5 separate regions of the Homo sapiens genome follow, and regions 2, 3, 4 and 5 are each linked to region 1. The links are contacts of gene promoters, found by promoter capture Hi-C in human tissues and cell types (Jung and others, 2019). All regions are on one chromosome and are shown on one strand. Each heading gives the region's core, a stretch centred on a gene start or on the middle of the fragment in contact. The rest is flanking DNA. Distances are from core to core; before and after follow the strand shown.

What was found. The method cuts DNA at HindIII sites, captures the fragments that hold promoters and counts their contacts. A contact is called where the count stands out against the background at its distance.
Region 2: a fragment that was not itself captured here is called in contact with the fragment with the promoter of ZNF728 in region 1 in 1 of the 25 tissues and cell types used here (dorsolateral prefrontal cortex).
Region 3: a contact is called between a fragment that was not itself captured here and the fragment with the promoter of ZNF728 in region 1, in 1 of the 25 tissues and cell types used here (dorsolateral prefrontal cortex).
Region 4: a contact is called between a fragment that was not itself captured here and the fragment with the promoter of ZNF728 in region 1, in 1 of the 25 tissues and cell types used here (dorsolateral prefrontal cortex).
Region 5: a contact is called between a fragment that was not itself captured here and the fragment with the promoter of ZNF728 in region 1, in 1 of the 25 tissues and cell types used here (dorsolateral prefrontal cortex).

Annotation. Positions count from the first base shown.
Region 1 is chr19:23,000,942-23,006,269 of GRCh38, reverse strand. ZNF728 (zinc finger protein 728) reads left to right here and starts at 3,094. Exons shown (of 4, transcript NM_001267716.2): 1 at 3,094-3,242. The coding sequence starts at 3,240. The HindIII fragment of the contact is 10,079 bases long and covers 1-5,328 here.
Region 2 is chr19:24,300,778-24,305,577 of GRCh38, reverse strand. No RefSeq gene overlaps it. Among named protein-coding and RNA genes, the nearest start is that of LINC03085, 160 kb to the right of the region's middle. The HindIII fragment of the contact is 3,599 bases long and covers 1-3,220 here.
Region 3 is chr19:24,325,671-24,330,540 of GRCh38, reverse strand. No RefSeq gene overlaps it. Among named protein-coding and RNA genes, the nearest start is that of LINC03085, 180 kb to the right of the region's middle. The HindIII fragment of the contact is 3,488 bases long and covers 1,231-4,718 here.
Region 4 is chr19:24,209,883-24,214,794 of GRCh38, reverse strand. No RefSeq gene overlaps it. Among named protein-coding and RNA genes, the nearest start is that of LINC03085, 66 kb to the right of the region's middle. The HindIII fragment of the contact is 3,157 bases long and covers 304-3,460 here.
Region 5 is chr19:21,217,432-21,222,449 of GRCh38, reverse strand. No RefSeq gene overlaps it. Among named protein-coding and RNA genes, the nearest start is that of ZNF431, 78 kb to the right of the region's middle. RefSeq lists an enhancer at 370-965. The HindIII fragment of the contact is 4,040 bases long and covers 597-4,636 here.

The sequences.
Region 1 (5,328 bases), core at 1,845-4,344:
ACAAATTCAATGTAATTTCCATTAAAATAACATTATCATTCTTCACAGAACTAAAAAAAATCCTAAAATTTATGTAAAATAAAAAGAGAGCTTCCAAAGTCAAAGCAAGACTAAGAAAAAAAAAACCAATAAAACCAAAAACACACACACAAAAATCTGAAGGCATTACATTATATGACTTCAAACTATACTACAAGGCTATAGTTACCAAAACAGCATTGTATGGGTATAAAAATAGACATGTAGACCAATGAAACAGAATAGCGAAACCAGAAATGAACCCAAATATTTACAGCCAACTGATCTTTGACAAAGTAAACAAAGATACAAAGTGGAGAAAGAACACCCAATTCAATAAATGCTGGCATAATTGGGAAGCCACATATTGAAGAATAAAACTGGATCTTCGGCTGGGCACAGTGGCTCATACCTGTTATCCCAGCACTTAGGGAGGTCGAGGTGGGTGGATCACGAGGTCAGGAGTTCAAGACCAGCCTGGCCAAGATGGTGAAACCCCGTCTCTACTAAAACTACAAAAAAAATTTAGCCGGGTGTGGTGGCGGGTGCCTGTAATCCCAGCTACTCGGGAGGCTGAGGCAGATAATTGCTTGAACCCGGGAGGCAGAGATCGTGCCACTGCACCCCAGCCTGGGAACAGAGTGAGACTCCGTCTCAAAAAAAAAAAAAAAAGAATCTTCATCTCTCACCTTATAAAAAAATCAACTCAAGATGGATCAAATACTTTAATCTAAGACCTGAAACCACCCGAATTCTAAAGCATTGGAAAAACTCTTCCAGACATTGACTTGGGCAAAGAGTGCACGAACAAGAACCCCAAAGCAAATGCAACAAAAACAAAGACAGATGGGACTTAAACAATTCTCAAAAGAAGATATACAAATAGCCAACATAGAAAAAAAATGCTGAATATCACTAATGATTAATGATCAGGGAAATGCAAATCAAAACCACAACGTGATACCACCTTACTCTCGCAAGAATGACCATAATTGGCTGGTCATGGTGGCTCATGCCTGTAATCCCAGCACTTTGGGAGACCGAGACTGGTGGATCACCTGAGGTCAGGAGTTCCAGACCAGCTTGGCCAACATGGTAAAACCCCGCCTCTACTAAAAATACAAAAATTAGCAGGGCACGATGGCATGGGTCTGTAATCCCTGCTACTCGGGAGGCTGAGGCTGGAGAATCGCTTGAACCCAGGAGGCGGAGGTTGCAGTGAGCCGAGATCGACAGAGCGAGACTCCATCAAAAACAAACAAACAAACAAACAGAAAAGACCATAATCAAAACATCAAAAACTAGGCCAGGCATGGTGGCTCATGCCTGTAATTACAGCAAACTCCGTCTCAAAAAAAAAAGAAAAGAAAAGAAAAAAAGAGATAAAACCCCAAATATTGTATGTCCTCACTTATAAGTGGGAGCTAAGCTATGAAGATGCAAAGGCATAAAAATTACAAAATGGGGCCAGGCGCGGTGGCTCACGCTTGTAATCTCAGCACTTTGGGAGGCCGAGGCAAGTGAAACTCTGTCTCAAAAAAAAAAAAATTAAAAATTAAAAAGAATTACATAATGGACTCTGGGCACTCAGTGGGAAGGGTGGGAGAGGGGATGAGGGATGAAAGAGTACACATTGGGTACAGCGCACTCTACTTGGGAGATTGGTGCACCGAAATCTCAGAAATCACCACAAAAGAACTTATCCATGTAACCAAATACTACCTGTACCCCAAAACTATTGAAATATAATAATTTAAGACAAAAATAAAACCCCCAAACTCTCATAAGTTTAAGTTTATATGCTTTGGCTTTTTTTTTTTTTTTTTTTTAGAAAGGGTCTCACTCTGTCACCCAGAATGGAGTGCAGTGGCTTGATCAGGGCTCACTGCAGACACAACCTCCTGGGCTCAGGCAATCCTCCTACTTCAGCCCCTGAATAGCTGCTACTACAGGTTCAGGCCACCATGCTAAATTAGCTGGGTGTGGTGGAGGGCGCCTGTAATCCAGCTACTCGGGAGGCTGAGGCAGGAGAATCGCTTGAACCCAAGAGGGGGAGGTTGCAGTGAGCTGAGATCATGCCATTGCACTGTAGCCTGGCCAGCAGAGCAAGACTCTCAAATAAAATAAAATAAAGGTTGTTTCAAGTTAAAAAAAAAAGTCTAATAAAATCGAAAGAGTTAAAAAATTATAAGCGTTTATAAGGCCGGGCGCCGTGGCTCAAGCCTGTAATCCCAGCACTTTGGGAAGCCAAGGTGGGCGGATTGCCTGTCAGTAGTTTCAGACCAGCCTGGCCTCAACGTGGTGAAACCCTGTCTCTACTAAAAAAACAAAAATTAGCAGGGCGTGGTGGCGGGCGCCTGTAATCCCAGCTTCTGGGGAGGCTGAGGGAGGAGAATTACTTGCACCCGGGAGGCGGAGCTTTCAGTTAGCCGAGATCCTGCCACTGCACTCCAGCCTGGGCGGCAGAGGGAGACTGTCTCAAAAAGATAAACAAATAAAAAAAAGAGATTATAAAATATATATGAAAATCTAGAGCGTTCAAAAATGACAAATTTGATGGATTTATTTATAAGATTTTACTAAAATTAGGGTTTTTTGTTTTGTTTTTTGAGATGGCGTTTCACTCTTGTTGCCCAGGCTGGAGTGCAATGGCCCGATCTCGGCTCACTGCAACCTCCACCTCCTGGGTTCAAATGATTCTCCTGCTTCAGCCTCCTGAGTAGCTGGGATTGCAGGCGCCCACCACCACGCCCAACTAATTTTTGTATTTTTAGTAGAGAAGGAGTTTCACCAGGTCGACCAGGCTAGTCTTGAACTTCTGACCTCAGGTGATCCCCCCGCCTCCGCCTCCCAAACCGATGGGATTAAAGGCGTAAGCCATCACGCCCGGCCTTTGCGGCAGACTGGGCTGGCACTCTTTCTTCAGTCAGCCCAGCATCTGATAACATCTTCCGTCACTCAGGGCCTGAAGGGGCGGGGCCTTAAACATTATCCAATCAGGGACGCTGGACTGGGACCGTCCAATCAGGCACGCAGCTGGAGCGGACAGGGCGGCTTCCGGGATGTGGTAGGACCGTTGGCTCTCGCTGCACGCGGAGGTCAAGGTGTCGTCCTTACTGCTGTGTGTCGTCCGCTCCTAAAGGCCCAGCTTCTATGGCCCTGTGACCTGCAGGTATTGGGAGATTCACAACTAAGTCGCCAGGACCCCCGGAAGCCTAGAAATGGTGAGTCAGCCGGGTCCGACATCCCGAGAGAGTGGCAGCCGCTGGTTGGAACCGGTGGGAAGTGGCTGTGGCGGGACTCAGGCCTCCTCTCAGTCAGCTCCACAATCTGTGCCCCGTGTTCTCCTTGCCTAGCTCGACCTCAGTCCGCTTCAGGCATAAGATGGCGGCTGCGCTGACACCCGGTCCCCGGGCGTCCTGTCTTTTCCCTGCGCTGTGATTGTGCCCTGGCCTGGAGCCCTCTTGGGGCCGCTCTGCACCCGCAGCGCGGAGTCTCTCTCAGATGTGCAGGGAGCATGGGAGGGTCGTCACAGGAGAATCCTGACTCGGCGTGTGGGTTCAAGAATGGAAAGAGCTTTGGTCCGTGAGGTTCCCAGCCCCTGTTTTCTCCTATTAAAAATTTGCAGAAGTCACCGCACAAATATTAAATAATTTAACCAAAGAGTGATTCCAAAATTGTAGAGCACCCAGCTATGGGTTGTAGTTTATGGTCTATTGAAGAGGTTTGACGGAAGAGTTTTATAAGGTGCCTAATGAAGAAAACCAAATTCGATAATTGGTTAGGTACAGTTACGTAGTTTCTTAATTCGTACTATCAAGATGGAAATTTCTTGGTTATGTAATCAGAGGTTAATTGGCAGTTTATAGTTTGTTAAGCCTGAATTTTTTCCCCCAATATAGTAATTTACAAAAAATGCATTTGAATTAGTTTTTTTGAGACAAAGTCTCACTCTGTCGCCCTGGCTGGAGTGCAATGGCGCCGTCTGGGCTCACTGCAATCTCCGCCTCCCAGGTTCAAGCGATTCTCCTGCCTTAGCCTCTCAGGTAGCTGGGATTGCAGGCATGCGCCACCACGCCCCGTTAACTTTGTATTTTTAATAGCGATGGGGTTTCACCATGTTGGTCAGGCTGGTCTTGAACTCCTGATTTCAAGTGATCCACCTGCCTCGGCCTCCCAAAGTGCTGGGATTACAAGTGTAAGCCACCGCGCCTGGCCGAATTAGATTTTTTAAAAGTAGAAATTAGGAACTACAGCCTCCTCAGTCTAACTGCCAGCCACTTAATTATTTTCACACCCCACAGGGAACTGCTGTTTCCTTGCATTTTTCACATGTGTCCCAAGTAGGGCCTCAAGTCCATCCCCCATCCCCTATTTCTCCGGCCTGACTCTGGCTTGCAGTAAAATACTTGATTTTCACTTCCTTCTGACATTCCCAAATGCCAATTTCCCCTCCCTTATTCATATTATCAACAAATAGTTTAGTGTACATTTTGATACCTATTTTAATCATTTTTTGACAAAGCATTTGATGGCACATTTAAAAAGATTTGTTTTCTGTTTGTAAATATTTTTTCTTCTGTTTTCCGTAGACACAGATATCACAATGTTTTTGGGTCAAGATTTCCCTTTGGAAACTTTATAGGGAGATGTGTCCTCAGCCACCCTTCAGTTTTTTCTTGGACTTGAGATTCAGTACTGTCTGGGGAAAAACCAAGATACCCGCCATGGCTATGTCTGTGAGAGTGTCTAGTGAATATCAGCTCCTGGGTCTTTTTCTCCCATAAGACAACCTGAGGTATGGAGTGTAGCCTCTGATCTCCCATAAGACAACCTGAGATATGAAGCGTAGCTTCTCAAGAGAGCAGGTGAATGCACTGTGGCTGAGTCATCTTCTGGTGTGCTGTTTTTTTGGAAAGCTACTCCCTTGAGATATTAATATTGTCTTTACCCAACCCAGCTTCCATTTCTTGGAGACACATTGCTGTTCAGACAATCAGATGCTGGTATTGAAGGGGAAACCAAAATAATTTTTGCCCCTGCATTCTCTTAGGGGACAGAAAAATAGTGAAATAAAAATGGTAAAAGGTTTGTGAAATAAAATAGCACTCCAAAGACAAAAACAACTGACCCCAGTGAGATGGTGCAAAAACTTGCAAAGTAAAATATACCTGGGGCACTCTGGGGCATAGTTCAGAGTCTCCTGAGAGAATGATTATTGAGCACTTAAGTGAACAGGATGGGGTGGGAGAATCTCTCAAGTAATTGGATGGCCTGACTTGACACATGAGTCAGACATATCCGTACCTT
Region 2 (4,800 bases), core at 172-2,671, 1.3 Mb before region 1:
TAACCCTATGAGATGCATGCACCTATCAGAAAGTGGTTTCTCAGAAAGATTCTTTCTACATTTTATCAACGTTAATTTCTTATTCACCTTAGGCCTCAGTGGACTCCCAAATATACCTTCAGAGAGTCTACAGAAATGGTGTTTCCAAACCTCTGAATCCAAGGAAAGTTTTAACTCTGTGACATGAGTGTACACATCACAAAGCAGTATCTCAGAAAGTTACTTGCTAGTTTTTATCCGAAGATATTTTCTTTTTCACCAGAGGCGTCAATGTGCTACCAAATATCTCTTTGCAGATTCTACAAAAACAGTGCTTCCAAACTACTGAATCAAAATAAAGGTATAACTCTGTGAGATAAATGCACACATCAAAAAGCCATTTCTCAGATAGCTTCCTTCTAGTTTTTATCCTGTGATATTCGTTTCTTTGCTATTGGCCTAAATAAGCTCCAAAATGTCCCCTCGCAGAATAGACTAAAATGGTGTTACCAAACTGCTACAATAGGAGGAAGGTTTCAATCTGTGAGAGGAATGGACAATCACCTAGCAGTTTCTCAGAAAATCTCTTTCTAGTTTTTTATCTAGATGATATTTTCTTTTTACCATAGGCCTCAATGCACTCACATATATCCCTTCACAGATTCTACAAAAAAAAAGCATTTCCAAACTGCTGAATGAAAAGGAAGCTTTAACTCTGCGCAATTAATGCACACACAACAAGGTGGTTTCTTAGATAATTTCCTTCTAGCTTTTATCCTGGGATATTCGCTTTTTTGCCATTGGCCTCAATGATATGCCAAATATCCACTCGAATAATGGACAAATATAGGGTTTCCAACCTGCTGAATCAAAAGAAAGGTTTAACTCTGTAAGATGAATGCACACATCACAAAGCATTTTCTCAGACAGCTTCTTTATAATTTTTATCTGAAGATATTTTCTTTTCCACCCTAAGCCTCAATGCGCTCCCAAATATCACTGTGCAGATTCTAGAAAAATAGTTCTTCCAAACTACTGCATGAAAACAAATGTTTAACTCTGCAAGATGAATGCAGACATCTCAAATCGGTTTCTCAGATAGCTTCCTTGTAGTTCTTATCCTTGGATTTGCACTTTTTTGTCATTGGCCTCAATGAGCTCTAAAATATCCATTCACAGAAAGGACAAAAACAGTGTTTCCAAACTCACAAATCAAAAGAAAGTTTTGACTATGGGAGACGAATGAACACATTACAAAGCAGTTTCTCAGAAAGCTTCTTAGTAGTTTGTATCTGAAGATATTTTCCTTTCACCATAGTGCTCAATATGTTCCCAAATATCCCTTCGCAGATTGTGGAAAAACAGTGTTTCCAAACTTATGAATCAACAGAAAGGTTTAACTTAGTGAGATGAATGCACACATCACAGAGCGGTTTCTCAGATAGATTTCTTCTTATTTTTACCGTGGGATATTTGTTTTTTTGCCATTGACCTCAGTGAGCTCCAAAATGCCCATTTGCAGAATGGACAAAGACAGTGTTTCCAAACGGCTGAATAAAAAGAAAAGTTTTGCTCTGTGAGATAAATGCACACATCACAAAGCAGTTTCTCAGAAACCTTCTTTCTAGTTTTCATCTGAGTATATTTTCTTTTTAACCACAGGCTTCAATGCACTCAAAATATCCCTTAGATATTTCTACAAAAACAGTGTTTCCAAACTGCTGAATGAAAAGATAGGTTTCACTCTGTGAAATGAATGCACACTTCACAAAGCGGTTTCTCAGATAGCTTCCTTCTAGTTTTTATCCTGGTATAATTGCATAATCGCCATTGGTCTCAAAGAACTCCCAGATGTCCATTCGCAGAATGGGCAAAAACAATGTTTCCAAACTGCTAAATTAAAAGAAAAATTTAACTCTGTGAGATGAATGTTCACATCACAAAGCAGTTTTTCAGTTCCAGTTTTTATCTGAAGCTAATTTCTTTTTCAACTTTGGCCTCAATGAGCTCCCTAATATCCCTTCTCAGATTCTGGGAAAACAGCATTTCCAAACTGCTGAATCAAAAGAAAGTTTAAACTCTGTGAAATGAATGCACACATCACAAAGCTGTTTCTCAGAGAGCTTCCTTCTAGTTTTTATCCTGGGACATTTGTGTAATCACCATTGGTCTCAATGAGCTCCCATATGTCCACTCGCAGAATGGACAAAAATAGTGTTTCCAAACTGCTGAATCAAAAGAAAAATTTAACTCTGTGAGATGAATGCACACATCGCAAAGTGGTTTCTCAGATAGCTTCCTTTTAGGTTTTATCCTGGGATATTCAGTCTTTCACCATTGACCTCAATGAGCTCCTGAATGTCCATTTGCAGAATGGAAAAAAACAGTTTTTCCAAAGTGCTGATTCAAAAGAAACTTTTAACTCTGTGAAGTGAATACACACATCACAAAGCAGTTTCTCAGAAAGCTTCTTTCTAGTTTTTATCTGAAGATATTTTCTTTTTCACCATTGGCCTCAGTGTGCTCCCAAATATCCCTTTGCAGATTCTACAAAAACAGTGTTTCCAAACTGCTTAATGGAAAGAATGGTTTATCACTGTGAGATGAATTCACGCATCACACGACAGTTTTTCAGATAGCTTCCTTCTAGGTTTTATCCTGGTATATTCACTTTTTCGCCATTGGTGTCTATGAGCTCCCAAATGTCCATTCGCAGAATGGATAAAAACAGTGTTTCCAAACTGCTGAATCAGAAGAAAGTTTTCACTCTGTCAGATGAATGCACACATCACAAAGCAGTTTTTCAGAAAGCTTCTTTTCAGTTTTTATCTGAAGATACTTTCTTTTCCAACATAGGCCTCAATGTGCTCCCAAATATCACTTCGCAGATTCTACAAAAACCGTGTTTCCAAACTGCTAAATGAAAAAGAAAGGTTTCATGATGTGAGATGAATGCACACATGACAAAGTCGCTTCCCAGATAGCTTCCTTCCAGTTTTTATCCTGGGATATTGGCTTTTTGGCTATTGCCCTCGATGAGCTCACAAATGTCCATTCACAGAATGGAGAAAAAGAGTCATTCCAAACTGCAGAATTGAAAGAAAAGTTTAGCTCTGTGAAATGAATGCACACATCATGAAGCAGTTTTTCAGGATGGTCCTTTCTCGTTTTAATCTGAAGATATTTCCTTTTTCACCATAGGCCTCAATATGCTCCCAAATATCCCTTTGCAGATTCTACAAAAACACTGTTTCCAAAGTGCTGAATGAAAATAAATGTTTAACTCTGTGAGATGAATGCAGACATCATAAAGCAGTTTCTTAGATAGCTTCCTTCTAGCTTTTATCCTGGGATATTTGCTTTTTTGCCATTGGCCTCAATGGGCTCCCAAAAGCCCATTCACAAAATGGACAAAAACAGTGTTTATAAACTGCTGAATAAAAGAAAGATTTAACTATCTGAGATGAATGCACAAGACACAAATCAGCTTCTTTGAAATCTTCCTTCTAATTTTTATGTGAAGATAATTTCTTTTTCACCATAGGCCGCATGCGCTCCCAAATATCCCTTCGCAGATTCTACAAAAACAGTGTTTCCATACCTCTGAATCAATGGAACGTTTTAACTCAGTGAGATAAATGCACACATCACACAGCAGTTTCTCATAAAGCTTTTTTTCTAGTTTTTATCTGAAGATATTTTCTTTTTCACCATAGGCCTCAATGCGCTCCGAAATATCCCTTCACAGATTCTACAAAAACAGTATTTCCAAAATGCTGAATCAAAAAAAGTTTTAACTCTGTGAGATGAATGCATACTTAACAAAGGGTTTCTCATATATCTTCCTTCTAGTTTTTATCTTTGGATATTCGCTTTTTCACCTTTGGCATCAATGAGCTCCCAAATATCCCTTCACAGATCCTAAAAAAGCTGTGTTTCCAAACTGCTTAATGAAAAGAATGGTTTATCTCTGTGAGATATATGCACACATCACAAAGTAGTTTCTCAGACAGCTTCCTTCCAGTTATTTAACCTGGGATATTCACTTTTTCATTACTGGCCCAAGAGCTCCCAAATATCCATTCACTGAATGGACCAAAACAGTGTTTCCAAACTGCTGAATCAAAAGAAAGGTTTAGCTCTATGAGATGAACGTACACATAACAAAGCAGTTTCTCAAAAAACTTCTTTCTAGTTTTTATCTGAAGATAATTTGGTTTTCACTATTGGCCTCAATGTGCTCCAAATTATCCCTTGGCAGATTCTAAAAAAACAATATTTCCAGATTCCCCAAAGAAAAGAAAGTTTTAACTCCGTGAGAGGAATGCACACATCACAAAGCAGTTTTTCAGAAAGCTTCTTTCTTGTTTTTATCTGAAGATATTTTCTTTTTCACTATTGGCCTCAATGAGGCCATATATCACTTTGCACATTCTACAAAAACAGTCTTTCCAAACTGCTGATTCAAAAAAAAAGTTGAATGCTGTGAGATGAATGGACACATCACAAAGCTGTTTCTCCAGTAGCTTCTTTTTAATTTTTATCTGAAGATATTTACTTTTTCAACATAGGCCTCAATGCGCTCCCAAATATCCCTTCAAAGATTCTACAAAAACAGTGTTTCCAAAGTGCTGAATGAAAAGAACGGTTTAACTCTGCAAGAAGAATGCACACATCACAAAGCAGTTTCTCAGAAAGCTTCTTTTAGTTTTTATCAGAAGATTTCTTTTTCACCATAGGCCTCAATGGGTTCCCAAATATCCCTTCACAGATTCTACAAAGACAGTGTTTCCAAACTGGTGAATCAAAAGAAAGGTTTAA
Region 3 (4,870 bases), core at 1,725-4,224, 1.3 Mb before region 1:
CTACACACAGCAGTTTATCAGAAAGCTTCTTTCTACTTTTTATCTGAAGATATTTCCTTTTTCACCATAGGCCTGAAAGTGCTCCCAAATTTCCCTTCGCAGATTCTACCAAAACAGTGTTTCCAAACTGCTCAATCAAAAGAAAGATTTAACTCTGTGAGATGAATGCACACATCAAAAAGCCATTTCTCAGATAGCTTCTTTTCAGTTTTTCTCAGAAGATATTTACTTTTTCACCATAGGCCTCAATGCTCTCCCATATATCCCTGCTTAGGTTCTAAAAAAAACAGTGTTTCCAGACTGCTCAATCAATAGAAAAGTTTAAATCTGTTAGAAAAATAAACACATAACAATGCTGTTTCTCAGAAGGTTTCTTTCTAGTTTTTCTCTGAAGATATTTCATTTTTCAACATAGGCCACAATGTGCTCCCATATATCCCATCGCAGATTCTACAAGAACAGTATTTCCAAACTGCTCAATCAACACAAACGTTTAACTCTGTGAGAAGAATGCACACCCTACAAAACGATTTCTGAGAAAGCTTCTTTCTAGTTTTTATCTGAAGATATTTCCTTTTTCACCATTGCCCTCAAAGCGCTCCCAAATATCCCTCAGCAGATTCTACAAAAACAGTGTTTCCAAATTGCTCAATCAAAAGAAAGGTTTAACTCTGTAAGATGAATGCACACATGGCAAATAAGTTTCCCAGAAAGCTTCTTTCTAGTTTTTATCTGTAGATATTTCCTTTTTTCATCATAGGCCTCAAAGTGCTTCCAAATATCCCTTCGCAGATTCCACCAAAACAGTGTCTCCAAACTGCTCAATCAAAAGAAAGGTTTAACACTGTGAGAAGAGTGCTCACATCACAAAGCAGTTTCTGAGAAAGCTTTTTTCTAGTTTTTATTTAAAGGTACTTCATTTTTCACTATAGGCTTCAATTGGCTCCCAAATAAACCTTTGCAATACTTCCAAAACAGTGTTTCCAAACTGCTCAATCAAATAAAAGTTTTAACTCTGTGAGATGAATGTACACACCTGAAAGTAGTTTCTCAGAAAGTTTCTTTCTTGTTTTTCTCTGAAGATATTTTATTTTTCACTATAGGCCTCAATGTACTCCCAAATATCCCTTTGCAGATTCTACAAAAACAGTGATTCCAAATTTCTGAATAAAAAGAAAAGTTTAACTATGTGAGATGAATGCACACATCACAAAGCAGTTTCTCAGATTGCTTCCTTGTAGTTTTTATCCTGGCATACTTGCTTTTTTGCCATTGACCTCAATGAGCTCCAAAACATCCATTCACAAAATGGACAAAAACAGTGTTTCCAAGCTGCTGAATGAAAACAAAAGTTTAACTCTGTGGGATGAATGCACACATCACAAAGCAGTTTCTCAGAAATCTTCTTTCTAGTTCATATCTGAAGATATTTTGTTTTTCCCATAGGCCTCAAGTTGCTCCCAAATATCCCTTCACAGATTCTACAAAAACAGTGTTCCCAAACTGCTGAATGAAAAGAAAGGATTAACTGTGTGAGATGAAAGCACACATCACAAAGCAGTTTCCAAGAAAGCTTCTTTTCCGTATTTATCTGAAAATAATTTCTTTTTCACCACAGGCCTCAATTCGCTCCCAAATAGTGTTTCCAAACTGCTGATTGAAAAGTAATATTTCACTCTGCTACCTGAATGCAAACATCTCAAAGCAATTTCTCAGATAGCTTTGTTCTAGTTTTCATCCAGGGATACTTGCTTTTTCGCCATTGTCTTCAATGAGCTCCCAAATGTCCATTCGGAAAATGGACAAAAACAGAGTTTCCAAACTGCTGAATCAAATGACAGCTTTCATTCTGTTAGATAAATGGAGACCTCACAAGACAGTTTCTCAGAAAGCATCTTTCTAGTTTTTCTCTCAAGATATTTTCTTTTTCACCCTAGGCCTCAATGCAATTCAAAATACCCCTTCGCAGCTTCTATGAAAACAGTGTTTCCAAACTGCTGAACGAAAAGAAAAGTTTAACCTTGTGAAATGAATGCACATATTACAAGGGGGTTTCTCAGACAGCTTCCATCTAAAAGTTATCTTGGGATATTCGCTTTCTCACTTTTGGCATAAATGGCCTCCCAACTATCCCTTTGCTGATTCTACAAAAATGGATATTCCAAGCTGCTTAATGAAAAGAATGGTTTATCTCTGTGAGATGAATGCACACATGACAAAGTGATTTTTCAGATAGCTTCCTTCTAGTCTTTATCCTGGAATATTCACTTTTTCTCCATTGGTCTCAATGTGCTCCCAAATGTCCATTCACAGAATGGACAAAAACAGTTTTTCCAAACTGCTGAATTAAAAGAAATGGTTACTCTGTGAGATGAAGGCACACATCACAAAGCAGTTTCTCAGAAACATTTTCAGTTTTTATCTGAAGACATTTTCTTTTTCACCATAGACAATGCATTCTCAAATATCCCTTTGCAGGTTCTACAAAAACAGTGTTTCCAAAATGCCGAATGAAAAAGCAGGTTTATATCTGTGAGACGAATACACACGTCACAAAGAGGTTTCTCAGATAGCTTCCTTCTAGTTTTTATGCTGGGATATTCACTTTTTCACCACTGGCCTCAATGAGCTCACAAATGTGCATTCGCAGAATGGACAAAAACAGTTTATCCAAACTGCTAAATAGAAAGAAAGGATTAACTATGAGAGATGAAAGCACACATCACAAAACAGTTTAAAGAATGCTTCCTGCTAGTTTTTATCTGAAGATATATTCATTTTCAACATAGACCTCAATGCACTCCCAAATATCCCTTCACAGATTCTACAAAAACAGTGTTTCCAAAACTCTGAATCAAAGGAAAGTTTTAACTATGTGAGATGAATGCACATGTGGCAATCTTCTCCAAAAGATTCTTTCTAGTTTTTTATGAAGATATTTTCTTTTTCACCATAGATCTCAAACACTCCCAAATATCCCATCACAGATTCTACAAAAGCAGTTTTTCCAAACTGCTGAATGAATAGAAATGCTTAATTCTGTGAGATGAATGTATACATCACAAGGCGGTTTTTCAGATAGCTTCTTCTTGTTTTTATCCTGGGATATTCACTTTTTTGCCATTGTCGTCAATGAGCTCCCAAATGTCTGTTTGCAGAATGGAGAAAAACAGTGTTTCCAAATTCCTGAATCAAAACAAATGTTAAACTCTGTGTGATGAATGCACACATCACAAACCCTTTCTCAGAAAGCTTCTTTCTAGCTTTTATATGAAGATAGATTCTTTTTCAGCATAGGCCTCAATGAGCTCCCAAATATCAGTTTGCAGATTCTACAAAAGCAGCGTTTCCAATCTGCTGAATGAAAAGAAAGTTTATCTCTGTGAGATGAATGCACACATCATAAAGCAGTTTCTCAGAAAGATTCTTTCTATTTTGTATCTGAAGATATTTTCCTTTTCACCATAGGCCTCTATGCATTCTAAAATATCACTTCACAAATCCTATAAAAACAGTGTCTGCAAACTGCCGAATTAAAAGAAGCCTTTAATTCTGTGAGATGAATGCACACATCACAAAGTGGTTTCTCAGATAGCTTCCTTCTAGTTTTTCTCCTGAGATATTCACTTTTTTGTCATTGGCCTCAATGAGCTCCCAAATGTCCACTTGCAGAATGGACCAAAGCAGTGGTTCCAAACTGCTGAATCAAAAGAAAGGTTTAACTCTGTGAGATGAATGTACACATCACAAACAGTTTCTCTGAAAGTTCCATTCAACTTTTTATCTGAAGATATCTTCTGTTTGCCATGGGCCTCAATGCGTTCCCAAATATCCCTTCGCAGACCCTACAAAAACAGTGTTTCCAAACCACTTAATGAAAAGAATGGTTGCACTCTGCAAAATGAATGCACATATCACAAAGTGGTTTCTCAGATAGTTTCCTTCTGGTTTTTATTCTGGGATATTCACTTTTCCATCATTGGCCTCAATGAGTTCCTAAATGTCCATTCGCAGAATCGCCAAAAACAGTGTTACCAAACTGCTGAATCAAAAGAAAGGTTTCACTCTGTTAAATAAATGGACACATAACAAAGCAGTTTTTCAGATCTCTTCTTTCTAGTTTTTATCTGAAGATTTTTTCACTGTAGGCCTCAATGCGCTCCCAAATATTCCTTCACTGATTCTAAAAAAACAGTGTTTCCCAACTACTGAATGAAAAGAATGGTTTAACTCTTCAAGATGAATGCACTCATCACAAAGCAATTTCTCAGACAGCTTCCTTCTAGTTTTTCTCCTGATATATTCACTTTTTCACCATTGCCCTCAATGAAATCCCAGATGTCCATTTGCAGAATCCACAAAAGCAGTTTTTTCAAATTACTGAATCAAAAGAAAGGTTTAACACTGTGGGATGAATGCACACATCAAAAAGCAGTTTCTAAGAAAGCTTCTTTCTAGTTTTTGTATGAAGATATTTTCTTTTTCAACATAGGCCTTAATGTGCTGCCAAATATCCCTTCACAGATCCTACAAAAACAGTGTTTCCAAACTGATGAATGAAAATTATCGGGGAACCCGTCCTTGATAATTCAACTTTATTTCATGTAGGTTCTTTTCTATTTCCCTAAGTGTCAGCCAGTCTGAGAAATAAAGGGAAAGAGTACAAAAGAGAGAAATTATAAAGCTGGGTATCTGGGGGAGTTATCACATTTCGGCAGGTTCCTTGATGCCGTGCAAGCCACAAAACCACCAAGTTTTTATTAGTGATTTTCAAAAGGGGAGGGAGTGTACTAATAGGGTGTGGGTCACAGAGATCACATGAAGATACAGAGACAATATTTAAAGGTTTGGGGAAATGTCACAAGGCAAA
Region 4 (4,912 bases), core at 633-3,132, 1.2 Mb before region 1:
AGGCCTACTGTGAAAAAGGAATATCTTCAGATAAATATAGAAAGAAGCTTCATGAGAAACTGCTTAGTGATGGGTACATTCATCTAACAGAATTGAACTTTTTCTTCTGATTGAGCAGTTTGTAAACACCATTTTTGTAGAATCTGTGAAGGGATATTTGGAATGGAATGAGGCCTATGGTGAAAAAGGAAATATCTTCACATAAAAACTAGAAAGATTGCTGAGAAACTGCTTTGTGATGTGTGCATTCATCTCACAGGGTTAATCTTTTCTTCTGATTGAGGAGTTTGGAAACTGTATTTTTCTAGAATCTGAAAAGGGATATTTGGGAGCACAATGAGGCTTATGGTGAAAAAGAAAATATCTTCTGATGAAAACTAGAAAGAACCTTTCTGAGAAACTGCTTTGTGATGTGTGCATTCATCTCACAGAGTTAAATTTTCTTTTTATTGAGTGCTTCGGAAACACTGTTTTTATAAAGTCTGTGAAGGGATTTATGATACCACATTGAGGCCTATGCTGAAAAAGAAATATCTTCACATAAAATCTAGAAAGAAGCTTTCTGAAACACTGCTTTCTGATGTGTGCATCCATCTCACAGAGCTAAACCTTTCTTTTGATTGAGCAGTTTGAAAATACTGTTTTGGTAGAATCTATGAAGGGATATTTGGAAGCATATTTAGACCTATGGTGAAAAAGGAAATATCTTCACATAAAAACCAGAAAGATACTTTCTGAGAAACTGCTTTGTGATGTATGCATTTGTCTCACAGACATAAAGCTTCCTTTTTACTGGGCACCTTGGAACACTGTTTTTGTAGAATCTGTGAAAGGATACTTCAGAATGCAATGAGGCCTAAGGTGAAAAAGGAAATATCCTCAGATAAAAATTAGAAGTAGCTTTCTGATCGACTGCTTTGTGATGTGTCCATTCATCTCATGGAGTTTAATCTTTCCATTGATTGAGCATCTTGGAAACACTGCTTTTGTACTATCTGCCAAGGATTTCTGGGAGCACATTGAGACCTATGGTGAAAAAAGAAGCATCTTCACATAAAAAGTAGAAAGAAGATTTCTGAGAAACTGCTTTGTGATGTGTACATTCATTTCACAGAGTTAAAGATTTCTTTGATTGAGAAGTTTGGAAACACTCTTTTAATATAATCTGTCCATGGATATATGGGAAGCATTGAGCCCTACATTGAAAAAGGAAATATCTTCACATAAAAACTAGAAAGAAGCTTTCTGAGAAACTGCTTTGTGATGTGTGCATTCATCTCTCAGAGTTAAACCTTTCTTCTGATTGAGCAGTTTGGAAGCACTGTTTTTGTAGAACCTGCAAAGGGATATTTGGGAACACATTGAGGCCTATGGTGAAAAAGGAAATATCGTCAATAAAAACTAGAAAGATTTCTAAGAAACAGCTTCATGGTGTGTGCTTTCACGTCACAGAGTTAATCTTTTCCTTTGATTAAGTAGTTTGGAAACTCTGTTTTTCTAGAATATGCAAAGGGATATTTGGGAGCACATTGAGGCCTATGGTGAAAAAGGAAATATCTTCAGATAAATACTACAAAGAAGTGTTCTGAGAAACAGATTTGTGACGTGTACTTTCATCTCACAGAGTTAAACCTTTCTTTTTATTTAGCATTTTGGAAACACTGTTTTTTGTGCAATCTGCAAAGGGATATTTGGGAGTTCCTCAAGGCCTATGTTGAAAAAGGAGGTATTTTCACATAAAAATTAGAAAGAAGCTTTCTGAGAAACTGCTTTCTGATGTGTGCATTCATCTTGCAGAGTTAATCCTTCCTTTTGATTGAGCAGTTTGGAAAGACTGTTTTTGTAGAATCTGTGAAGGATATTTGGGAGTGCTTTGAGGCCTACTTAGAAAAAGGAAACATCTTCAGATAAATCTAGAAAGAAGCTTTCTGAGAAACTGCTTTGTGACGGATGCATTGATCTCACATAGTAAAACCTATGTGCTGATTGAGCAGTATGGAAACACTGTGTAGAATCTGCGAAGGGATATTTGGGAATGGATTGAGGCCTATAGTGAAAAAGGAAATGTTCTTAGATATAACCAGAAAGATTTCTGAGAAACAGCTTTGTGATGTGTGCATTCATCTCACAAAGTTAAACCATTCCTTTGATTGAGCAGTTTTGAAACACTGTTTTTGTAGGATCTGGGAAAGGACATTTTTGAGCACATTGAGGCCTATGGTTGAAAAGGAAATACATTCAGATAAAAAACAGAAAGATTCTTTTGGAGAAACTGGTTTGTGATGTGTGGATTCATCTCACAGAGTTAAAATATTCTTTTGATTGAGCAGTTTGGAAACACTGTTTTTGTAGAATTTGATAAGGGATATTTGGGAGCCCTTTGAGGCCAATGGTGAAAAAGGAAATATTCTCAGATAAAAACTAGAAAGAATCTTTCTGATAAACTGGTTGTGATGTGTGCATTCATCTCACAGAGATACACATTTCTTGTGATTGAGCAGTTTGGAAACACTATTTTTGTAGAATCTGTGAAGGGATATTTGGGAATGCAATGAGGCCTATGGTGAAAAAGGAAATATCTTCACATAAAAACTAGAAAGATTTCTGAGAAACAGCTTTGTTTCTGTGTGCCTTCATCTCACACAGTTAATCCTTTCTTTTGATTGAGCAGTTTGGAAACTGTGTTTTTCTAGAATCTGCAAATGGATATTTGGAAACACAATGAGGACCAAGGTGAAAAAGACAATATCTTCCAATGAAAAGTAGAAAGAAGCTTTCTGAGAAAATTCTTTGTGATGTGTAAATTAATATCTCAGAGTTACATTTTCTGTTGATGGTGCTCTTTGGAAACACTGCTTTTGTAGAATCTGCCAAGGAATTTATGAGAGCACATTGAGGCCTATGGTGAAAAAGGAATTATCCTCAGATAAAATCTAGAAAGAAGCTTTCTGAGACACTGCTTTGTAATTTGTGCATTCAAATCACAGAGTTAAACTTTTCTTTTGATCGAGTAGTTTGGATAAACTGTTTCTGTAGAATCTGTGAAGGGATATTTGGGAGCGCTTTGAGGCTGAGAGTGAAAAAAGGAAATATCTTCACATAAAAACCAGAAAGACACTTTCTGAGAAACTGCTTTGTGATGTGTGCATTTGTCTCACAGAGATAAAGCTTCCTTTTTATTGGGAAGCTTGGAAACACTGTTTTTGTGGAATCTGTGAAAGGATACTTCGGAATGCAATGAGGCCTATGGTGAAAAAGAAAATATCCTCAGATAAAAAATTGAAAGAAGCTTTCTGACTAACTGCTTTTGATGAGTCCATTCATCTCACAGAGTTAAACCTTTCCTTTGATGGTGCATCTTGGAAACATTGTGTTTCTAGAATCTGTGAAGGATATTTTGGAGCACATTCAGGCCTATGGTGGAAGTGGAAACATCTTCACATAAAAACTAGAAAGAATATTTCAGAGAAACTGATTTGTGTTGTGTGCATTCATCTCAGAGAGTTAAATATTTCTTTTGATTGAGCAGTTTGGAAACACTGTTTTAATATAATCTGTCAATGGATATATGGGAGCTCTTTGAGCCCTATGGTGAAAAAGAAAATATCTTCACATAAAAACTAGAAAGAAGCTTTCCCAGAAACTGCTTTGTGATGTGTGCATTCGTCTCTCTGAGTTAAAACTTTCTTCTGATTGAGCAGTTTGGAAACACTGTTTTTGTTGGATCTGCAAAGGGACAATCAGGAAAGCATTGAGGTCTATGGTGAAAAAGGAAATATCATCAGATAAAAACCAGAAAGATTTCTGAGAAACAGTTTTGTGATGTGTGCTTTCATCTCACAGAGTTAATCTTTTGTTTTGATTAAGCAGTTTGGAAACTGTGTATTTCTAGAATCTGTGAAGGGATATTTTGGAGTGCATTGAGGCCTACGGTGAAAAAGGAAATATCTTTACATAAATACTGGAAAGAAGTTTTGTGAGAAAGTGCTCTGTGATGTATTTATTCATCTCACAGAGTTAAACCTTTCTTTTGATTAGGCAGTTTGGAAACACTGTTTTTATAGAATCTGTCAAGGGATATAAGGGAGCACATTGAGGCCAATGGTGAAAAAGGACATATCTTCACATAAATATTAGAAAGATGTGCTCTGAGAAACAGCTTTGTGATGTGTACATTCATCTCACAGAATTAAACCTTTCTTTTTATATAGCAGCTTGGAAAGACTGTTTTTGTACAATCTGCGAAGGGATATTTGGGAGTGCCTTGAGGCCAATGGTGGAAAAGGAAATATCTTCACATAAAAACTAGAAATAAGCTTTTTGTGACACTGCTTTGTGATGTGTGCATGCATCTCACGGAGTTAATCCTTTTTTTTCATGAAGCAGTTTGGAAAGACTGTTTTTGTAGATTCAGCAAAGTGATATTTGGGAGTGCTTTGACGCCTACAGAGAAAAAGGAAATATATTCAGATAAATCTAGAAAGAAGCTTTGTGAGAAACTGCTTTGAGATTAATGCATTCATCTCACAGAGTTAAACATTTCTTTTGATTGAGCAGTTTGGAAACACTGTTTTTGTAGAATCTGGGAAGAGATATTTGGGAACCTACTGAGGCCTATAGTGAAAAAGGAAATATCCTCAGATAAAAACCAGAAAGATATCTCAGAATGAGTTTGCGATGTGTGCTTTCATCTCACAGAGCTAAACCTTTCCTTTGATTGAGCAGTTTGGAAACACTGTTTTTGTAGGATCTGGGAAAGGATGTTTGGGAGCACATTGAGGCCTATGGTGAATAAGGAAATAACTTCAGATAAAAACCAGAAAGAATCTTTTGGAGAAACAGCTTTGAGATGTGTGCATTCATCTCACAGAGTGAAACTATTCTTTTGATTGAGAAGTTTGGAAACAGTGTG
Region 5 (5,018 bases), core at 1,367-3,866, 1.8 Mb after region 1:
AATGTGAAGAATGTGGCAAAGGCTTTAATTGGTCCTCGACCCTTACTAAACATAAAAGAATTCATACCATACAGAAATCCTACAAATGTGTAAAATGTGACAAAGCTTTTAACCACTTTTCAATCTTGCCTACATATAAGATAATTCATGCTGGAAATCCTACAAATATGAAGAATGTCTCAAAGCTTTTTACTGATTCTCATACCTTACTAAACATAAAATAATTCATAAGGGAGAGAAATTATACAAATATGAAAAATCTTGCAAAGCTTTTAACAAATCTTCATCCATTACTAAACATAAGATAATTCATACTGGAGAGAAAACCTACAAATGTGAGGAATGTGGCAAAGCCTTTAACCTGTCCCCCCAACTTACTGCACATAAGATAACTTATACTGGAGAGAAGCCCTACAAATGTGAAAAATGTGGCAAACATTTTAACCAATCATCAACCCTTACTACACATATGTTAATTCATGCTGGAGAGAAACCCTACAAATATGAAGAATGTGGCAAAGCTTTTAACCAATCCTCAAAACTTACTAAGCATAACTCATACTGGAGAAAAATCTTACAAATGTGAAGAATGTGGTAAAGCCTTTATCCAGTCCTCAACTCCTACTAAACATAACATAAGCTGCTTACAACTGTGAAGAATGTGGCAAAGCTTTTAACCAGTCCTAAAACTTTATTGAACAAAATAATTCATTCAGGAGAGAAACCCTACAAATGTGAAGAATGTGACAAAGCCTTTAACCAGTCCTCAATTCTTAATAAACATAAGAAAATTCATATTGGAGAGAAACCCCATGAGTGTGAAAAATATGGCAAAGGCTTTAGCTAGTCCTCAGTTCTTAACACACATAAGATAATTCATACTGGAGAGAAACTCTACAAATCAGAAAGATGTGATAATGCTTTTGACAATACCTCAAACTTTTCTAACCATAAGAGAAATCATATTGCTGAGAAATCCTAGAAATGTGAAGAATGTGACAAAGTCTTTAAATGGTTGTCATACTTGATTATAGGTGATATAATTCATAGTGGAAAAAATTCCTACAAGTGAGAACAAGGTGGCAAAATTTTTAACTAATACTCACACCTTATTGCAGAGAAAAGCATTCATATTTGAGAAAAATTGTACAAATATAGACTGTGAAAAAGACATTAATATCTGCTCACATCTTACTAACACCAGAGAGTTAATACTTACTAAAAGCATGATAAGTGCAATTACCGTCAAAAGACCTTTCAGAAAATCTTATTCTTTAAAGTGAAGAAGAGGATTTATATTGAAGATGAGCATTACACGTGTAAAGAGGGTTGTAGTAGCTTTACTTGTATCAGATCTTATTGTCCACATTTTGTACTAGAGGAAAACTCTAAAGGAGTTGCTTAAACTTTGTTCAACATCAGGGAATTTATATTGAAGAGTTGTCTTGCAAATGTAATAAATTTGGGAAAACAAATTTTCAAAAACTACAGCTTAGAAAACACCAGAGTTTATACTACAATATGTTTTTGAAAATGCAGTAAAAATGAAAAAAAAAATTTAATTCAAATTTAAGTCTACATAAATATCAGAGAATTTATAGTAGAAATATATAAGGAACTGACACTTCAGATGTTATACTAAATCAGAGTTCTGAGTATAGAAAATAATCTAAAACTAAAGTTGGTATAAAAATTATTTGTATATAACTTTAAGAGGAGTAAAAGTTTTTTGCAGAGTAATAACTACATTCAAAGTATACTTTATTTCTTGAAAAAATTACAGATTTTTTGAAAGCAAATGATGTAATTCAACTGTCATTATTTTCTGCTGTTTCTTCATTCTTATTCACTTGTGAAAGTTTGTGATCATTTCTTGCTGCATCAAAGGTATGAGAGATTCTTTTTCATTAGGTGGGCATTATTTATGATCTTTTCTATGTACAAGTAAGGATATTAGAATGTAAGATGCATGATGAAAATCTAAGTGGAGAGATTCTTTGTGGTTAACTTACACTATTGAGTGATGCACGAGGTAGGTGTTAAGAGTGATATTCTTTGCATTACGAGAAAACTAGTAGTATATTATTCATATATTGTACTAATTGTACTTTTATATGATAAAATGCAGTACATTTTAAAAATTTTAGATTATGTGTGAAGTTAATCGTTTCAACATTTTTAACATGTTAAATACTATTGTGCATTCAATGAAGTGTTATTTTACCACAAAGATTAACCTTTTCCACTTTGCCCAAAAATATAGGTAAAAAATGTTAACAATATACTATTTGGTAACATAATGGACTAACATCTTTAGTCATCTCTTTTGCCAGTGGCTTTAAACTGCAAATAAGTTAAAGAATATTGTTCCTGTAGGTTAAATTTTTATTCTTAATCATTTAATTTGTTTTTCTTAATTTCTGTGGGTACATGAGTGTATATACTTATGGCATATATGGCATATTTTGATACACAAATACAATACATAATACTCACATCGAGATACATGTGGTATCCATCACCTCTAGCATTTATCCTTTGTATTACAAACAATCCAATTGTACACTTTTACTTATTTTAAAATGTACAATTATGGCCGGGTGCAGTGGCTCACGCCTGTAATCCCAGCACTTTTGGGAGGCCCTGGCGGATGGATCACCTGAGATTAGGAGTTTGAGATGGCCAGGAACCTGGGAAGTGGAGGTTACAGTGAGCTGAGATTGCACCACTCCACTCCAACCCAGGTGACACTGCAAGACTCCATCTCAAGCAAAAAAAGAAATAAAAAATAAAGTACGATTAAATTATTATTGACTACTGGGATATTTTTATGGTTATTATAGAAATCATATGCAAGTATAAATTAAATACATACATTTCTGAGTTCTGAGTACATATCTTAAAATTTTAAACATATATATATTTGAACTTGTGTCCTGTCTGCCTGCAAACACATACAGACTTTTAGGTTTGATATACAGAGGGTTAAATATACATTACTGTAGAGATAAACTTTAGGTGTAAGGAAATGATGGAGTAAGTAAGTCTGTGTTAGTATAAGTTTGTACTTATTTTCATAAGAAATATTGGAAAAATTATTTTAACAAGGTAACTAGTATAAAACTAAAAGCCTCAAAAATGCTGAAAGCAAATGTATACTCTCTGCTTTGTATTGAATTTACTACTATAGTTATTGTATATGAAATTGTTTTTTAATTTTCATTTTGAGATAGTTAATGTGTAGAAATGCTACTGACTTTGATGTTACTTTTGTATTTTGAAAGCTTAATAAATTTGTTTATTTTTAATAGTTTTTAGTAAAATCTTAGGCTTTTCTTTTCTTTTCTTTTTGAGATGGAGTCTCACGTTTGTCACCCAGGCTGGAGTGCAGTGGCATGATCTCGGCTCACTGCAACCTCTACCTCCCAGGTTCAAGCAATTCTCCTGCATTAGCCTCCAGAGTAGCTGGGATTACAGGTATTGTGCCACCAGGCCTGGCTAACTTTTTTTTTTTTCTTTTTGTATTTTTAGTTGAGATTGGGTTTCACCATGTTAGCCAGGCTGGTCTCGATCCTCCTGACCTCAGGTGGTCTGCCTGCCTCGGCCTCCAAAGTATTGGGATTACAGGCATGAGCCACTGCACCCAGCCAGTCTTAGGGTTTTCTATACTTCAGATTATGTATAAGGATAAAAGATAATTACACAGGAATAATTAACTTCCTTTTGTCCAATCTGGATGCCTTTGATTTTATTCTCTAATTTCTTTGCCTTAGATTCATTCTATGTTTAGTAAGACTGACTTTAGCAAGGATGAGTGGGCATCCTTGTCTTGTTCTAGCTCTTGAGTAAAATCTTGCAACATATCCCCATTTAGTATGTTGTTACCTGTGCATTTTTTGGTTGTATGTGGCACTTATTGGCTGAGGTGCCAATAATTTGATCTATAACAAATTTTTTCAGAGATTTATCATAAAGGAATGTCAAATTTTGCCAAACTTCCATTGTGTGCATCTATTCTTTTGTACTCTGCATCTATTTAAATGTTAGAGATGTGAAATCACAATTAATTCTATATATATACAAAAAATCATCAGAGACTACTATGAACATCTCTATGCCTGCAAACTAGAAAATTTTAAGAAAATAAATAAACTCCTGGATACACACAAATTTCCAAGATTGAACCAGGAAGAAACAGAAGTCTTGAACAGGGCAAAAATGTATAAAATATATATGATGAAATTGAATTAGTAATAAAAAACCTACCAACCATAAAAGCCCTGGATTATGTAAAATCACAACAAAATTTTACCTCATATACAAAGATGAGCTCGTACTACTACTGAATGTACTCCAAAAAATCAGGATGGAATTCCACCCTAACTCATTTTATAAAATCAATATTATCTTGATACCAAAATCTAGTGAAGGCACAACAAAAAAAGGAAACTACAGGCCAATATTTTTGGTAAACATTGAAACAAATATCCTCCATGAAATACGAGCAATCTGAGTTCATAAGCAAATCAAAACGTTTTGCCACAATCACGTGAGCTTAATTCCACCTATGCAAAGATATTTAATCATATGCAAGTCAGTAAGTGCAATTCACCATGTACAGATAATTAAAAAATTATACAATTAACACAATAGACACAGAAAATGCACTCAAGGAAATCCAATATTCATTCATGAAAATATTCTCAACAAAGAAACCATTAACAAAACATACCTCAAAATAGCAAGAGCCATGTATTAAAAATCCTCAGCCAACATTATACTGAAAAGGCAATAGCTGCATGCATTCTCCATTAGAATAAAAATAAGACAAAAATATCCATTCTAACACTCCTATTCAACATAATTTTAGACATCCTAGTTAGAACAATCCAAGAAAATAAAGAAATTAAAAGCATCTAAATAGAAAAAAAGGAAATTAAATTATCTTCACTGATAATGCTCTACCTAGAAAACCTTAAAGATTTCCAGAAGTATTTTAATTTGAAAATATAAATTAT